Regions from separate parts of the Homo sapiens genome. Here region 1 is linked to region 2. The links are contacts of gene promoters, found by promoter capture Hi-C in human tissues and cell types (Jung and others, 2019). All regions are on one chromosome and are shown on one strand. The core of a region is centred on a gene start or on the middle of the fragment in contact, and the rest is flanking DNA. Distances in the headings are between cores, read along the strand shown. Region 1 has its middle 58 kb from the start of MIR5692C1. Region 2 holds the start of SLC25A48 (solute carrier family 25 member 48).

What was found. Contacts are between HindIII fragments. The study calls those that stand out against the background at their distance.
Region 1: a contact is called between a fragment that was not itself captured here and the fragment with the promoter of SLC25A48 in region 2, in 2 of the 25 tissues and cell types used here (mesendoderm cells and spleen).

What each region holds. Positions count from the first base shown.
Region 1 is chr5:135,742,953-135,747,707 of GRCh38, reverse strand. It overlaps a transcript of SLC25A48 not described here. Among named protein-coding and RNA genes, the nearest start is that of MIR5692C1, 58 kb to the left of the region's middle. The HindIII fragment of the contact is 3,075 bases long and covers 1,224-4,298 here.
Region 2 is chr5:135,832,177-135,836,602 of GRCh38, reverse strand. It overlaps SLC25A48 (solute carrier family 25 member 48), which reads right to left and starts at 1,940. Exons shown (of 8, transcript NM_001349336.2): 1 at 1,710-1,940. The coding sequence starts at 1,755. RefSeq lists an enhancer at 2,474-2,975. The HindIII fragment of the contact is 4,672 bases long and covers 1-4,426 here.

The DNA.
Region 1 (4,755 bases), core at 1,512-4,011, 90 kb after region 2:
CTATATTCTTAGTGTCTGGGGCCAGGTAAAGTTTGTTCACTCATTAATATTCCAGGTGCCAAACCTGTGATCAATGACATTCCAGTAGCAATGAGTAGTTGTGGCATCCAGATCTTGGTTTCTGAACTGTTGTCTGCTAAAAGTAACCAAGGCTCCCCGAAGAAATGACTGCAGCAGTGAGAAGGGATGACTGAAATATCTTATTGTATCAGAAAGCAAGAAAATGCTCAAAGAAGTTGTATTAGTGCCCAAAGAACATAAGAACTGTCTTGAAGCGGCTTCACTGACCACACTTGGGGGGAAAAATTGACCAGAAAGCATAATAATAATTTATTATAAAAGACAAATTAAAAAAAAATCCAGGAATCCATAGTGAGACTCCAAAAAAAAAAGGAAAGAAAAAAAAGAGAGGGTATATAACTGATATATAGATATATATATAGATATCATATATGAAACTGTATCTATAGTTATATATATTACATCAATGCTGCTAAAATCACTCAGTGAAAGGCTGATAGGGAAGAAGATGGTCACATGGTCTTTCAGTGCATCACCCCAGAGAATACTTGTTAATTACAAATGGCAGAGGGTACCATTCACTGGAAAAATGGGGCAGACACCACCTTTACCAAGCCATCAAGCTTCACATTACCAAAAACGGGACAAATTGACATTATCCAAGTGTGTTCTGCAGGAAAAAAAAACAACAACAAAAAATACTTAACCTGAATCTAATGACGGGGCAAGAGTGAGGAGAGGATCAGACAAATCAAGATTATGGGATATTCTATAAGACAACGGGTCTGGAGCTGTCAAAATTATCAATGTGATGAGACTCCCCCTAAAAAAAGGAAGGACTGATCTGAATTAAAGGAGACCAAAGAGACGTAACTCCAGGCAATGAGTGAATCTAGGGTGGGAGGGGTCTTATTTGGAACAATTAAAATTGGAATATAAACTGTCTATTGACTAATAGTACTGCATCGATATTAAATCTCTTGGGTATGAAAATGACACTGAGGTCATGAAGAATGCCTGTGTTCTTAGGAGATGCACTGCCGAAGTATGTATGATAGGAAATCCCTGAAAAGGAACAGAAGTGAGTCCCAGTCGCTCCGCCCAAGGTTCACGCGTGCCCACAGCCCTCTCTTTTGGAGACTTATTTTGCACCGGAGAATCGGATTGTACCTGCAAGGCGGAAATGCACGACAGCAGTTCCGGTGACCACAAAGGCAGCAAAGGCGACAGAATGGAGAAGGTGCCTCACGTGAGTTCCTGGAGGAGGCGTGGGTGGCAGGGCAAAACTGTAGCGAGCTGCTGTAACTGTGGTCTTGTCTCTGTGCAGACTTTCCAGGGGCCCTCAGTGCCCAGGGAGGCCAAGGTGCTTCATGTCAGGGATGCCCCAACCAGCGGCTGTGCACTTCTGGAGTGGGGGCTACCCCAGACCCGGGTAAGAAAAAGGCAAGGCCTCAACAGGAAGTGAGAGGCGCAGGCCTGGAAAAGGCTGCACATGGGAGGGAGGGAGCGGGATCTGCAGAATGAGTGATGGGTACGGGCTAGAAGGTATTGTATACGGAGAGGAGTGGGGCCTAGAGGGCGCTGAGCATGAAAAGTAGGCAGCGTGAGGGCGGAGCTTGAAATGAGTGACAGGGAGGAGGACTGTAGAAGGCGAGAGCAAAGGATGTGGCACGGATGGAGGCCAAGACTAACCTGTGCAGCATCAGAAGGGACATTAATTAAGAGGATCCGGGACAGAAGTTTGAGTGACAATAACTGACCACAGAGAAAATGGGATAAGCTTCAAAGTCAGGGAGTCCTCAGACTTAAATCCTGGCTCTGCCAGCTATTTTCTTGACATAATTTTCTTCCTTTTGAGGAGTGATTCTTCCGTTCATTCAACAGAAGTGTGTTGACCGCCTCGTAGGTACTGTGCTGTGCTGGGGACACAGCTGGGGATCAGGCATGGTCACTGCCCTAGTGGAGTTTAGCTTAACAGGGGAAATATAAACACGTGAGCTAGCAACTAAACCACCACAGCTTTAAGTGCTGTGAAGCACAGATTCAAGGATGGGAGGACCTTAGGAGCCTGCTCAGAAGGACCTTAAAAAGCAGGAGGCAGGGGGAGAATCTTTTTTTTTCTTCCCACCACCCCCGCTGGCCTTTTTTCCAGAGGGAATCTTGCTGTGTTGCTGGGAACAGGCCCCCCACATCTGGCCATAAACAGGCCATGAGAAACTGGCCATAAACAAAATCTCTGCAGCACTGTGACATGCTTGTGATGGCTATGACACCCACGCTGGAGGTTGTTGGTTTACCAGAATGAGGGCAAGGAACACGTGGCCCACCCTGGGTGGAAAACCGCTCAAGGTGTTCCTAAACCACAAACAATAGCATGAGCGATCTGTGCCTTAAGGACATGTTCCTGCTGCAGATAACAAGCCAGAGCCTGTCCCTTTGTTTCCCATAAGGAATGCTTTCAGCTAATCTATGATCTATAGAAATAATGCTTATCACTGGCTTGCTGTCAATAAGTATGTGGGTCAAACTCTGTTCGGGGCTCTCAGGTCTGAAGGCTGTCAGCCCCCTGATTCCCACTCTGCACTCTATTTCTGTGTCTTTGTCTTAATTCCTCTAGCACTGCTGGGTTAGGGTCTCCACAACCGAGCTGGTCTCGGCACTGTGTAGCCCAGGCTGGAGTGCAGTGGTATGATCTCAGCTCACTGCAACCTCCGCCTCCTGGTTTCAAGTGATTCTCATGCCTCAGCTTCCCCAGTAGCAGGGACTACAGATGCCCGCCACCTCTCCTGGCTAATTTTTGTAGTTTTAGTAGAGACAGGGTTTCATTATGCTGGCCAGGCTGGTCTTGAACTCCAGACCTCAGGTGATCTGCCTGCCTCAGCCTCCCAAAGCTGGGATTACAGGTGTTAGCCACCACACCCAGCCAAGGGGGAGAATCTTGAAGGAGTTCAAAGAGAGAGTTGGGTTTGATTCTTGGGTCCATGTGGTGTGACCATCAGCAATAGTCATAACCTCTCTGAGCTTCTGGTTCCTCATCAAAAATGGAGACAGGCCAAGTGCGGTGGCTCACGCCTGTAATCCCAGCACTTTAGGAGGCCGAGGCAGGTGGATCACTTGAGGTCAGGAGTTCAAGACCAGCCTGGCCAACATGGTGAAACCTGTCTCTACTAAAAACACAAAAATTAGCTGGCATGGTGATGCGTGCCTACTCTTGAGGCTGAGGTGGGAGGATCACTTGAACTGGGGAGGTGGAGGTTGCAGTGAGCTGAGATCATGCCACTGCCCCCCAGCCTGGGTGACAGAGTGAGACCCTGTCTCAAAAGAAAAAAAAAATGGAGAGAAAAATAGTTACCTTGTCAATCCAATGGAGAGACTGAACCATCTCTACCAGTGGAGGTTTATTGAGCCAGAGCTTGAGGGCATGCTCTGGAAAACACAGAAATGTCTGTGGCCTGTGCTCCCTGGAGAGGTTCCAGGAGGCTCGTGTTTATATATTTCTTTAAAAGGGGAAAAAGCATGCAGGAAAAAGTGCAGTAGGCCTTGAGGCAGTTAGTTAAATTCCTGTGAGGTTTAAATTAGAGCCCAGTATATCTATGCTATACAGAAGATAAGGTAAACATTCAAAAGAGGGAGTAAAAGAAGAATTAATTAGATGTCTCAGGGTAGGAGAGGAAGGATTAATCTTATCCTGTCTTTGTTTGGCATGTGAGAAGATAAGCTTGTAATGGATGGACATCATCAATGTGACATTTAACAGACATCAGTAGCAGACAAGGAGTTAGACTGAGGTTACAGTCCTAAAGTTACAGTTAACATGTCCTTGTTTATGGGAGGATATTCATCTTCAAAGGTTTAGGGGCCATCAAAGAAGCTCCTTAGGAGCAATTTGTGAGGGCAGTCATCCCACGATGGAGATGCATGAGGCCTTTGGCCTTTTGCAGGGGTCTAGTTAATGTAGAATGCTTTGATCCAAGGTTGGGAAGTAACAGCTGTCTGTTGATGGGGAGGAGGACAGCAGTGTTGGGAGGTTTCCAGGCTTAACTTTCACTTGAATTTGAGCAGTAATGAGACATTTTATTTTCCATTATACCTCGTGTGTTAAGGATTTGAAATGAGATAGTTTCATTGACAGATACTTAGTACGTGCCTGCTATCTATCAGGGTTTCTCACCCTCCACATTGTTGACATTTGGAGCAGGATTATTCTTTGTTGTGGGGGGCTGTCCTCTGTATCATAGGACAATTAGCACAATCCCTGGCCTCTACCCATCAGATGCCAGCAGTACCTCTCCTGTCACAATGAAAAGTGTCTCCAGGCTGAGCGTAGTGGCTCATGCCTTTAATTCCAACACTTTGGGAGGCCGAGGCGGGTGGATCACTTGAGGTCGGGAGTTCCAGACTAGCCTGTCCAACATAAAGAAACACCGTCTCTACTGAAAATACAAAAATTAGCCAGGCTTGATGGCAGCCACCTGTAATCCCAGCTACTTAGGAGGCTGAGGCAGGAGAATCACTTGAACCCAGGAGGTGGGTTGCAGTGAGCTGAGATCATGCCACTGTACTCCAGCCTGGATGACAGAGTGAGACTCTGTCAAAAAAAAAAAAAAAAAAATGAAGGGAAGGGAAGGGAGGGGAGGGGAGGGGAAGGAAAGGGAAGGGAGGGGAGGGGAGGGAAGGGGAAGGGAGGGGAGAGGAAGGGAGGGGGGGGAGGGAGGGGAGGGGGAGGGGGAGGTC
Region 2 (4,426 bases), core at 691-3,190:
ATCTTACTGGGGGATGAAAATGTTCTAAAACAAATTTATGGTGATGGTTGCACCTCTTTGTAAAATTACTAAAAGACATTGAATTGTACATTTGAAATGGGTGAATTTTATAATACATAAAATAAACCTTGATAAAATTGTTTTAAAAGAATACATATAGCACTTAAACTATACCTGGCACCTAGTAAGTATTCAAGTGTAGTAAACACTTACCATCATTTCATGGAAGCCAAAAAAAAAAAAAGCCATGTTATTAGTTTGGTGCAAAAGTAATTGCGATTTTTGCCATTACTTTCAATAACATCACCAAAGTAAGGACCAGAATAAAGCACAAAAATCCCCTACTTGCTGTGAGTCGGGGAGGGTTCACATGTTATCACGTTTGGGGATGGGGAGGGGTATCAGAGTCTTGGAACTACTCTGACTCAGCCCTACCTTCCAGGGCATTTTTCAAACCAAGCCATTTGCATCCCTACCGAAGGTGGTCTGCTTATTTAAGGGGCAGCCCACGGAAGTGTCTCCTCTCTCTGCCTGCCCCGCTGAATGGTGGAATAATTGTCCAGTCAAAAAGGACCTGGATATGCCCAGCGGGCCTCAGGCTGCAGCCCCCTAACTGGGAAAGTTAGGAGAGGCGGGTCTCAGCCCCACCCAAGGGCATCTGTGCCAACAGACTTACTCAAGGTGAAAGGAGCCACCTCTGCTCAGGAAGGTGTGAAGCAGGGCCCTGCAGCCACCGGTCTCGGGAGAGAGGTGGTCTCCTGCTAGGTAGGAGGGGAGGAGTTGGGATCCAATCTGGTTTGTTGTTCTTTTCATCTTATTTTTTCACCCCTTTGGTGAGGGGCTACATTTGCCAACATCCCTTTTAGGATAACCCTTTTAGATGGGTCCAAAGAAAGACTTTTTTTTTTTTTTTTTTTTTTTTTTACAATTAGCAAAGTCCCTCAAACTTCCCCCTTTCCTAATAGCTGAGAAAAGAGGGATAGACCAATTGGAAAGAAAAATGGAGAAGCAAGGAAATGAATGCAACTCTCGCCCAGGCAACCCATCCCAGGCCCAGTAAAAGAGTGGCTTCGGGAGCTGTGGCGAAGGGATCAGCAGACCCAACAGTGCCCGGAGAAGGGGCCTTGGAGGTAGGCGATGGCTGACGGTTGGCGGCGGCTGAAGGCAATAAGTGCTCCTCGCAGCCTGGCAATGGGCACCTGCAGCCGGCGCTCCGCTCCCTGCTGTGAGAGCTCTGCTCCCTCCAGTCGGGACGCCCCGTTGGGCCGGCCTAATCTCGAAGCCTGGCTCCCACCACCCTGCGCCCCGGGATCAGCAGCCAAGCGCTACCCTCATACATAAGTTCCCGCGAGCCACGTCCGCAATTCAGGTGTGCACCAGGTCACTGAAGGGTGTGTGCGCCGCCAGGAGCCTCCATTGGCTGTGGGCTTTGACGAGCTGTTTAATCATTACCTCATCAAGTCCCACGGATCCTAACTTAATGAGCAAATCAGAAGCTCAGCCCGAAACGCTGTGAAGCTCTCAGAATTTAGCCCTGGCAACTGCAAGACCACCAGGGGGATCTCGGGGCCGGGCACTCCCCAAAGCAGGCTGCGCGCACAACGGGGAGCGGGATGGCAGCGCACAGAGGCAAAGTTTCCTCAGAGCATAGAGGCAAACTCCGCCAGGCTCGCTCTCTCTGACCGGGGGTCCCCGGTAAGCACACTCACCTCCGATCCAGCCCGCCGCAAAGTCTTCCAGCTGGAAGCTTCCCATGGCCGGCGCTCGGTCTCGCCCTCCCGGAGCCGGGGCAGTGCCCACTTAGAGTCAGTGGGGCATGGCCCGCGGGCGCGAGCGCGCCGCAAGACCGAAGTCGGAGTCTCGAGCACGCCGCAGGTCCTACTCCAAACCCAGTCCCCCAGTCACCGGCTGCGCGGGCTGCCGCGCTCACCTCTCCAAGTGCCGGAGGGCGGCTGACATCACGCCCCCAGTGGACCTTAAAGGCACAGCACTCTGGGTGGATAAGGGTGCGCTCCGCGCGGCTCATCCCAGACACAAAGAGGCAAGGGTCATCAAGTGAAATTCTCTTAGTCCTCCCTTCTCCGGGTTATCCTCTTCCTTGCCAACTTCAGAGCCTCAGCGCCTTTGAACTGAAAGTGCCAGCCGCCCATCCAGAGACGGCAATGCGCGTATCTCCCTGTACTGTGCTGTGCTGACAATGCTGATTCCAATCAGCTGTGGACTCTCTCCCATCCCAACTCTGGGCAGTGATGCCTTTTTGTTCATCTCAGCCATGTCCCACTCAGTACCCCGTGCCTAGAGCAGGCACCTGGTGGTTCAGGGTCATGTCTAACTTTCAGCTACAGCTCTCTAGGGGCCCAGCTCCCTGCCTGGCCCTGGCTCACCCTACACTGTCCGCCCTGGGCCAACAGAAGGCAGAGGTGGTGCTCTGTACCTCAAACTCCCTCTCTGTAGGCAGACCCTACATTCAGCCAGGCCCCAGGCCAGGGGTCCGTGCTCACTGGAGAAGTGGCCTGCTGTGCGGAGAGGCTTTTGATTACAATGAGAGTGTCTTTCCTCCCTTCCTAAGAAGACTCGAAGCCCCCCAGCGTTCTGCTAGTTTCCAGCAGGGACTCAGCTGTGGGTCTCAGCCAAGACACCCCAAGGTTGACAAGAATGGTGAAGGGTATGGTCAGGAGGAAGGGGCCTCTGCTGGGCCTGCTCTTGTCCCACTGGGCATATTCATGTCACGTCATCCAGGTTAATATGAAGCGACAGCCAGCCAGACCTCCTTCTTCCAAAGCAAGACAGAGCCTGACCACCGAAGCTTGATCCTACAAAGGCCTGTCCACTGAGGAGTGGGGACTTGGAGGTGAAGGGACCTTCCTGCAGCATCACTCCCTCCCCTGCCCCGGCACACAGAGAGTGGACCTGTATCGGGAGAGGACAGCCCGGGATGGAGTCGCCGGCCTGGCTAGGGAAGTATTGCAAAGTTCCAGGGAGGAGTGGAAGCATCACACCCCATCCCGGCACCTCAACTTCCTGCTGCTTATGGTGACCCACTCAGTCTTGAGGCTTCAGAGTTGCCATCAGCATCAACCCCAAGCTGTGCCCTGTCATGCCCGGGATATATGCCTAGGGCTGCTATGAGAAATGCAGGTCTCTGAAGAGTGGCCTTTTACTGAGTTCACCATTGGAATGCATCCACAAGTGGAAAGCCTGACAATTCTCAAAACCCACTCCTCTGGAAGACCACCTAAGGGGTGCCAGGCAGTTTGTCATCCCCTCAGTCCTGTGTCAGCACCAATTGAGGAGGTCTTACGTTGGCAGGCAGTGTCCCTGGCAGCCCAGGATGGCCTCCCAGGCCCAGAAAGCTGCTGCTTGAACTACTAACGAGCTGGAGCAGAGCAGGAGTGGGTTGCTTTCCAAAATGAATTACTGTGCTCCATTCCCATATGCATGCCACAAACCTGCCCATGGGGCGCATCACCCAGGGAAGTGAGGGGAGGACCCTAGGTTTACCAGCAACCATGGCCAGGCCTGGAGAATCCCAGACCACAGGGCTATGAGCCCAGGCAGAATGCTGGCTCTGTGGCCAGGATCCAGGCCATCCCTTCTTCCTGGCCTTCGCACTTCAGAGCACCATTTGCAGTGTGCTGCCATTCACATTTGCATTCTACACTCGGGAGAGGGCAGGGCAGCTACTGGCCATTACAGAGAGAAAGAAACTCCACAGAGATCCACTCCCTGCATGACTAGGGCCAGAAAGCAACCCCATTTTCTTTCTCCCTCAGTTCCTTCCCCAATGATGACCTCTCAGAGCACTTTCCTCAGTAGCAGGACATGCAGATGGGCTATGCTGATAGCATTTGTTAACTAGTGGCCCACTCCCCATTTCTTATTTACCCTTTCAGGCCACAGCAATTTCCTGAGCATCAGTCTGTGCTAGTGCCTTGCTTTGGGGAAAGTCTCTGTTTGAGAGGAGACAATCCATCTGAGATGCTACACAGAGGTGGCTGTAAGAGCACTGGAGAGGGAGTCCATCGTTCTACAGGAAGCAATCAGGGAAGGCTCTCCAAACTTGGAGTCTCCTGGCTGCACCTTTAGTCTACACAGCCCCACAGCTCCCACCTCCCCAACCACTCTCTCAGGCAAGCCAACAATCCCCTCCCCATGTCCACCTGCCACACTCGGGCAGCAAAGGCCTGGGTCAGCTGTCCATGCCTGACCTGCTGCAGTGAAGGCGCTGCCCATGCCGCCTGCTCCCCTCTGCTTCCAGATTCCTGCCCTCACCCAGCTTTCCTCCTGCTTCTCCAGCTCTTCTCATCTTCTTCCCTGGTGCCATGGCCCCTTCTCATGCTTAGGTGTGAATTCCTCAGGGCCCCATCTGGACCCTCACCCACCCGTACCTCCCATCTCTCAGCGTATAACCCCCACACCTTGCTTC